2 separate regions of the Homo sapiens genome follow, and region 2 is linked to region 1. Evidence: promoter capture Hi-C in 16 types of primary human blood cells and fetal thymus (Javierre and others, 2016). All regions are on one chromosome and are shown on one strand. Each heading gives the region's core, a stretch centred on a gene start or on the middle of the fragment in contact. The rest is flanking DNA. Distances are from core to core; before and after follow the strand shown. Region 1 holds the start of MET (MET proto-oncogene, receptor tyrosine kinase). Region 2 has its middle 77 kb from the start of TES.

What was found. Contacts are between HindIII fragments. The CHiCAGO score rates a contact against its expected background, and 5 or more counts as called.
Region 2: a fragment that was not itself captured here is called in contact with the fragment with the promoter of MET in region 1 in 1 of 17 cell types (naive B cells); the score reaches 5.1 in naive B cells.

What each region holds. Positions count from the first base shown.
Region 1 is chr7:116,669,118-116,673,878 of GRCh38, forward strand. It overlaps MET (MET proto-oncogene, receptor tyrosine kinase), which reads left to right and starts at 3,079. Exons shown (of 21, transcript NM_000245.4): 1 at 3,079-3,460. All of the region lies in intron 1 of COMETT (cytosolic oncogenic antisense to MET transcript), which reads right to left. RefSeq lists silencers at 2,687-2,736, 2,867-2,996, 3,057-3,246. The HindIII fragment of the contact is 13,748 bases long and covers 1-4,761 here.
Region 2 is chr7:116,131,151-116,135,465 of GRCh38, forward strand. It overlaps a transcript of TFEC not described here. Among named protein-coding and RNA genes, the nearest start is that of TES, 77 kb to the right of the region's middle. The HindIII fragment of the contact is 1,045 bases long and covers 1,845-2,889 here.

The DNA.
Region 1 (4,761 bases), core at 1,829-4,328:
AAAGGGAGGGAAAAAAAGATAGAGCATATTAGAGCAGGAGGTGGCTGTTCCTCTGTCTCTTTGTCACAGCTATCACTAGACCCATCTCAAAGTTAAGAGATGGGATCCTGTTTGTAGTTCAACATTATGTTATCCACAGGTGGATGGATAAGACCTGCTTATGCCTTTGGATCATTTATATTTTACCAGACACTGTTCCATGTGCTCTACTTGTAGCTCCTCATTTTATCCTCACAATAACCCTATCATGATCCCCATTTCACAGATGAGACACGAGAGAGTTTAATCCACTGGCCTGTAGCTACACAGCTAGCAAGAGACATAGCTGGGATTGAAATCCAGGTTGTTTGGTTCTAAAACTCTTAACTATTATGCTCAACTCAGTCTTGGAGATGTTGTTCCCAATTTGAGGGGTCTATCAGTTTTAATTGCTTTCAGCTGCAGGTGACAGAAGTCCCAGCTACCAGTGTCTAGAACAAGTTTTGTTTTTGTTTTTTTTCCACAAAACAAGAAATCTGGAAGCAGGTGTCTACTGGCAGTAGGGCTGTACCTCAGCAATGTCAGCACCAACTTCTGCATGCTGGTCACAAGATGGTTAGTTCTTCACTGGGCATCATATATGAAATCAAGAAGCAAGAAAGGAAAAGGGGTGGCACCAGCCTTAAACCCTTTCCCACAAGGCCCCATCAGACTTCAACTTATACCTCATTACCAGAATGACATCACATGGCCATGTCTAGCTGCAAAGGAGTCTGGGAAAGCAAATATTTCTCTTTTCAAGCCCCAAGAGTGGAGGCAGGAACAGGAAAATCTCGTTGGGAACAGATGCTGGCTTAGCCAGCCAACAGTGTGGACCACAAGAGATTTGGTTTGGTTAAGAAAATACCAACAGAACTTCATCATACAGTGTATCACCCATGACATGAACCCAAGGAAAGTTAAATAGCAACAATTAAAAGTTTGCTGCAAAACCAAAATTGAATTATAGAACTCCTATTACCTTTTAAAATATCTGTTTCCATTCATTTCCAAAAATCTGAAATTATCTGTAAACATTTTCCCAATCAAATCTGTCTAGGTAGTGTGTAAAAATTACTTGACCTTCACACACCCAGATACTTTTAGTTATGCTATTGTTAGTTATGTTATTTCATAAAATGTTATCTCCTTATTTACAGTTGATAAATGAAATGATGATTTTCAATACAGTTTCAAAACTGGATTGAAATTTTGTTAGTTATTAGAAACTAGAAAGTTTCAGTGCTGAAAATACACAACGGGTTGTTTGTATTTATCATCTATTTTATTTTCCAGTTTGCATTGGCTTTTCTGGGTCTTTCTACAACTTTAATTGTAAATTTTTTCTTTTATATTTTTATCATGGCACTCAAACTCAGAAAACCTGTTAAGGCAACTACATAATGTGATCTAAAAATCCAGTTAACATATTGCTATGGAAACCAGGAAATAGAAACAGCACTCTAATCATTCCTTTAGACAACTATGGCTCTGTGTGTGTGTGTGTGTGTGTGTGTGTGTGTGTGTAAAACTTTTTAAATTCATTAATTTATTCATCTTTTATTGAAAGCTGTTACTGAACCCAAAATCTGTAATTGATCTGTCCATAAATAGGCCCAGTGCCTTATTACCAGTAAATTAGTGTTTTTTAATGAGCTATAGTCATTGATAAATTATGCCATGCCGTATCAGGAAATCTCCAGTCAGGCCGCGTTGTTTATTTAGCCTGCTGAGGCCTCTTGGTATGGTGTGAAGGACACCTGACTGGGCTGAAAGCTAAGTTCTAACTTTGCCCCTCTTACTAACCAGCTATGTGACTCTCCTGGGAACTTTTAGGGACTCAGTTTCTTTACCTGCAAAATGGTTCAATGCAAGACTTTAGTAACGTAATGGGAACTTTCCTTTTCCATAAAACTGGGGAATCAAGAGGTAATCTCTTTTGAGGACTGAAATCACTCTTATGTAACCTCTGGTTACATTATCATTTCCAAGTGCCTGGCACTTGGGAAATGATAACTATTCTTACTACATTTTTCTATGTTTCATTCTGTAGTAAATAAGAACTGAACCTGCATAGTAACTGTTATTTTAACCCATGACTTTCAATAACGAAGATATCTATGTCTCATTATCTATTGCCATGATTGAACAAGTTGGTATGAGAGCCGGAACGAACTCAAGTTCTAACCGGCAATGCCCGTTCCTTAGATCCTATTACCTTTGAGTGTTCATTTACTCTTGTAGGTGCCAATTTTTATAGCGAAATACAAAGTTATCCCAACACAATTACTCCTAATAGAGTTCACCGAGGCCCCAAAAGCTCTTTTTTAAAAATCATCATAAGATTTCAACATTCAAGAATTAAACTTTTGTTCTGTTGTGCTTATTCATCGCTATTTGCCCAGTTATTTAATCAGCCTGCTTCCGGCTATGGAAAAAAAAAAAAAGAAAAAAAGAAATGGAAGTCTCCTCAGGGTTAAACTCCTCTGTTGTTCTTCCTTGCAGAAATTTGAGTTATTATAGTAGAGGATAATCGTTGCATAATGAAATCATTGGGACAATTCGTCCATCCACTTCTACCTCCGCCTCTAACAATGAACTCCTTGTTTCTGCGGTGCCCAAATCTCTCTAAACCCGGGTGGGCGCGGGGCGGTTAGCGGAGACGTGGGAGAGGCCGAGAGCAAAGCTCGCGCCCTTCCCGGGGTCAGCGAGCGGGGTGCCAGGAGGGTGCGCGCCCTGCATCTGAGCCCGGGGTGACACTCGCCTCCCAAGCGCCAGGAGGGGGAGACTCGGTCCCGCTTATCTCCGGCTGTGCTAACTTCAGACTGCCTGAGCTGGGGGAGGAGAGCGCGCAGCCAGGGCGAGAAAACTTCTCCACCTAGAAAGTTTCACCTTGTCGTGGGCGGGGCAGAGGCGGGAGGAAACGCGACCCCCGCGGGGCCAGGCGCGGCGCGGACGGCAGGAAGGGCGGGGGCCGATTTCCCTCTGGGTGGTGCCAGTCCCCACCTCAGCGGTCCTCGGAACCCGCGGACTAGGGGACGGACAGCACGCGAGGCAGACAGACACGTGCTGGGGCGGGCAGGCGAGCGCCTCAGTCTGGTCGCCTGGCGGTGCCTCCGGCCCCAACGCGCCCGGGCCGCCGCGGGCCGCGCGCGCCGATGCCCGGCTGAGTCACTGGCAGGGCAGCGCGCGTGTGGGAAGGGGCGGAGGGAGTGCGGCCGGCGGGCGGGCGGGGCGCTGGGCTCAGCCCGGCCGCAGGTGACCCGGAGGCCCTCGCCGCCCGCGGCGCCCCGAGCGCTTTGTGAGCAGATGCGGAGCCGAGTGGAGGGCGCGAGCCAGATGCGGGGCGACAGCTGACTTGCTGAGAGGAGGCGGGGAGGCGCGGAGCGCGCGTGTGGTCCTTGCGCCGCTGACTTCTCCACTGGTTCCTGGGCACCGAAAGGTAAAATTGCAGCCCCTTTCAGATCCAGTACCCAATCCCTCGCCTCAGGGGTTCTGCTTTCTTTGTTCCCCTAAGAGACCTGACTGCTGTTCCAGGGGGCAAAACCACGTAGGTGGGCTAGAGTTTAGGGGCTTCGGAAACTGAAGAGACGTGGCCACGGCGAGGACGAAACTAGAATGGGGCTTGTCTTTTTAGGGGGTTGCTTCTGATGGCCACCTGTATGACTTAGGAGGGAGAGGGGCGCTGGGACAGTGGGTGATGTGTGACTGTTACGGCCCAGCAAGTTTTAAAGCTGGGATCTGACTCAGCCCTTACAAAAGGGATCCGGTCATCCTCGTCCCACCGTGATGCAGCTGGCAAGGTTTGAGCCGAGCTGTTTCCTTGTTCCCAGCCTTGCTTTATCTGTGTTATGTTGGGGTCCTTCCAAGGGGCAGGTGTTTCTGTGAAAGTCTGAATTCATTTCTGGCAATCACGCGGGGCTTGTGATCCATCAATTTTCCATCGTACCTTATCTCTTTCTGGGGCTTGTGGTGGACATCTATCTTATTAGGTGAAATAGATTATAACCAGAGGCTGAGCGATGTGGCCAGTCGTAGTGCTGACCCGATAATTAAAGCACCAGTGAAAGTACTTTCCCTGACTATTGTCAATGCAGAATTTACTCCGAAGTACGGTTTCCCATTCATATCTTTCATGTTTTAAAAGAGCCATTTGCTAATTTGGCAGTTGGAGAGGGCTCCAATGGCTCACGCATGAATAGTTGCCCAGTGTATTTTACCTTATCACAGTTTTATGTTCAAAGGAGCCCTCGGGCAGAATGAAATATTGTCAACTCTCTTAGGCAAAATAATCAAGATACTTTAATTGCTATGTTAAGATGGTCCATGAATGTGAGAGGATTGTAAGAACTGACGTTGGAGGCAATATAGACTATCTGGACCCTCTCTTGAATTTTAAGAAGACTGTTCACATTCTGTAGCTTTGGGTGGGGGTTTATTCTGTCGCTTTCATCAGCCAGACACATGCACATTGCCATGCAAATGGATTCAGAAAAACATTATATTCCCTTACAGCTAAACTATTATAGCTGACTAATGAATTTTTTCTGCATGAAGATGATCTGAAAATGATGTACATCATGTTTCTCTGTGCTACAGGGACATAAATTGCATTTTTATGTAAACAGTGTAAGTGGTGCTTGGATTATTTACAGGTACATAGCTTTCCTTCCTTGATCTAAGCTAATTGAGCTTTGTTTTGAACGTGTAAACTTCCATAATGGAACATAAGTGAGGTACTTT
Region 2 (4,315 bases), core at 1,117-3,616, 540 kb before region 1:
TTATAAATAATTATTAAATATACAATCTAGTTGGAAAACAGATGTGACTGCATTTTCACATCATCTGTAAACTGAGCCAATATGTCATCAATGCCATCCATATGCTCATGGAAATAATGAATAAATATTTTAGACAGGATAGAAACCATGTGCCTTTGAACAGGGCACAAAGACCAGCCACTGTAGACTTCCTTCTGAGGTAATAGGAACCCACTAATTAGGACTAGTCTGTAAGACAGCTAAAATTCATTAACAATTCTATCATCCATAACATAGATCTTTACCTTGGTCACAAAGATATCATGAAAGTTTATATCTAGAATAGATTTCTCATTTACTAATTTAGTAACCTTACATATATTAGAAAAGCAAGTGTAATCATATTATGTTTTTATTATTTTGAACTAACTGCATACAAAATATTGCCTCATAGAAAGAGTCCTCAAAAATAAATAAGAAAATAAAGTAATGGTTTTAATTAGCACTGTCCACTGTCTATATTTAAACATTTTTTTCTAGCTAACATGAGTGTACTTGAAAAAAAATTGTTTCCTCAAGTATTGTTCCATCTTGTTTCTATCATCATCTCCACTCCCCTTAAAGAGTTTGCTAAGCAATGATAAAATTTAGATTAGCCTCTGCCCTAAGAGGTATCCATTGCAATAATGATTTACAGTATTAGTACCCTTGAGATATTAACGCACATTAAATATAAAGTGAATTGAGATGAGCTTTTCCCACAGGGGCACAATAAATAGTAAGATCCAGGTGCTTAATTATTGTTGCCACTTTCTGCACTCCTAAAAATTTTCCTTTGAAGTTTTACTCTTGCTATAATCATATTAGGTCATTATGCTTCACTTTATGCTCCAAAAGCCTGTAAAGCACATTTGATGGCGAGGTCAGAATGGTTGGCTTTTTTTCTTTCCATCATAAAGTATGCTGTTTCCCCTAGATCAGCAAAACATGCATAGCAGGTGATAAGATGTACTGCAGAGAAGCCAACGGCATCATTTTAAGGAATTAGTGCATAAAGTTGGCCTATAAGTCAAAGAAATGTATGTAATCAAAATTACTCATGGAAATCCCCTAACTCTACCATAAACCATATCCTTTAGTGTTGTTTATATGGCACTGTTCAAAAATGCTATTTCTTAATGTTTTCTTAAGGATTTGAACAAATTTCTGCTTCTTGGGTCTGGCATCAGGTAAAGTAGTTGGCTATTCAGGTCTACAGTGAATTTTTTTAAATATGCAAAAAAGATCAAAGCTTAGAATATTATCAGCTAAGTATAACTCTCGAAAAACTGAATATGCTCAAGGATCAGGTCTAATAAAGTTAATAATTTTTACAGCTTCATCAAAGGCAATCCTAAGTAAAGTTGGCATTGTTTTCTTTAACTGTGAGTGCATGGCAGTGAAGAATATAATGACTGACTAGCGGTTTGGTGCCACGGCCTTCATTCATAAAAAGGCACATGCAATTTATTCACCATTGCTTTTGCACAGTAAGTGCAAATATTCAAACTGTGAAAATGGAAAATAACATTTTAGCAATAAAATGTTTTAGGAGACACCTCGGGAACTATAGAACATTCTTTGAGAACTATAGCGTTAAAACAACTTTTAAACAAGCTATAGAATATTAGTTAGCTGGAAAAAAGTGAGAAATCTTTTCCTGAAATGGCAAAGCATCATTAAATTTTGTTGTGAATGTTTACAGTGAATATTTTAATTAATATGCATATAAAATTTCACCAATTGTGTTTTTTGTCTTTTATCTCATTTATCTGTCCTCTTTTCAATACATTGTCAACTTTGTAGCTTTGTTTCATTAATTTTTAAGCTTTTCTTCAAAACAGTTTTAAGACTACTTTAGAAAATAAATTATTACAGTGCTTAAAAAGAAAATAAATGTATGCAATAAAAGCTATCATCGATTTTTAAGTTGCTTATAATCTTTTCAGTTTTTGTCAATTTTCAAAAGTTACATAATGACAAAGAGTGATTTAATTTTTGTTTACCTCACAATACCTTATGTTTAGATTCTCGGCAACAAAACTACAAACGTGTTATGTACCAAACGAAAATAATTCTTTCCTTAATTAGAAAAGTCTGGCCAGGCACGGTGGTTCATGCCTGTAATCCCAGCACTTTGGGGGGCCAAGGCAGGCAGATGACTTGAGGCCAGGAGTTCGAGACCAGCTTGGCCAACAGGGTGAAACCCCATCTCTACTAAGAATACAAAAATTAGCCAGACGTGGTGGCGTGTGCCAGTATTCCCAGCTACACAGGGGACTGAGGAACCCCACAAAGTGGACATTGCAGTGAGCTGAGATCACGCCCCTGCACTCCAGCCTGGGTGACAGAACAAGACTCTGTCTCAGAAAAAAAAAAAAAAAGTAGGGGGATGGGGAAAAACATTCTTTGCCAATAAATGATTTCTGGGAAACATAATTTAATCATTTAAATTAAAGACTTTTCATGCCCCTCTTGTTGATTTCCCAAAAATGTAGCTTTTTTTTCCTGACTGAATTTTCTTTGAAATAATTAAAAGAAAAAGAAAATTTACCTCTTTACTTCTCATGTTCTTGTGTTATCTTTCAGAGCTTAACCTATGGTACTGTAGTAAACGCTAAAACTTTATGAATAGCAGCTTTTTAGATGCCTAAGACATCTTTAAGATTAGAGAGCGATGTTTATGAAGTAGAATACTATTGAATTAGTTAAGCAGGTAAAAGAGAAGAACAGGTCCTGAGCAGTAATAATGCAAAACAATAGCAACAACAAAAAAAAATTAGATCAACATAAGCTCCTGATGTGTAATCACTGACAGAAAAAGCTGGCAAACCAAGCCAAGAGATAGCAGGCCAGTCAATCCAGACTAAAAGCTTAAGCTAAAAATAACTGCCTCACTAGGTCTTTGTAGAAAAATTCTACATGCTAAGGATGTCAACTTAAATGTGTCTGGTTTATGAATAAGAATATTTAAGAACAAAGGCTGCATACATTAAAAGAAATAAAATTAATATAAAAGACTGAGTCAAGTAAATGATCTGTGTAAGTTCAGAAACTTTTAGATTAAATAGTTGAAAAGCTGTGAAACTAGAATGACAGCTTTTATCCTTTATCATATTTAAAGCAGGGTGTCTATGCTTGACTTCTGTTCTCATGCTAGATATAAAAAATAAGAATAAAAAGAAAGAGGGAAGGAAAAATGTATACCATATATTGCTGCTTCTAAATCAATTACACATTGTACACAAATTGAATCACCTCTTACTTAAAAGCTAATCAGAAACATTACTATGCACAGAAATGACCTGTTTTCCACCTAAATTCTAGTTCAAACCCTTCCCTTTGGGTCTCTGAAATTTTTTTTATTCACTTCTTTTTATTACTTTTACATATCAAGAGTAAATGTGGTTAGTTTTGAATCATTTATTTTGAAGGAAAAAATTACATGAAAACAGGTTAATAAGACTGTGAGCATTGCTATACGAAAAATTAGAAGTCTTCTTCGCCCTTTTTTGATAACTGCATTAAGTATATGAACCCAAATACTTTCTCTAATTATACACATCTTACAAATATGTTCATATTAATGGAAAACAAAAGGTATGCTATAGCTTTGTGGTAGAGTGGAAATAAATGCACCAATTATACTTAAAGTATTAAATAATGTTATAATACTGGCCTTTGAAACTAAAATAAATGTCTTATTTATAAAGCATCAGGAAAACCTCTTCAGCTCCTGCTCAAATACGTTGCACATTTGAATAATGCCAGTCTCTGTAGGACTTGATATTGGACTATGAATATTTGACCTAGAATATCATTAACAACTTATACATTTTAAAATCACATTTTGAAATGCGTCAAAACTAAGATTGTAGTGAATTTAATTTCAAAGTCATACTATCCCTCCTTTTATGCTGTATGTGGTAATCCTTGATTTTTTTGCACTGATGCTAAATGTTAATGAACAGAGCCACCGTGTACCATTTCACCTGGAGCAATGAAAACATTAAAATCTCTTTAGAAGCCTGAATAAAACTTTATTTTATAAATATAATCCATGTTAAAGCTCCACCGTTTCACTGTACTTTTGAAATAAGGGCACATGGAAAATATGGAAGCGTTTCCTTTGAGATAGCTAACTAAAGCTACAAAATGAGCACGGTACAGCATTTCCAAGGAACATGGTTCAAAAGTTGTACGATTACTACTAAGGTTGTTTTATTCTCTACCACATTTGGAACAGGAAGTCTGTGTTGTTCTTGAAGAATTCTGAAAAGCAATGTCACACTCTGAT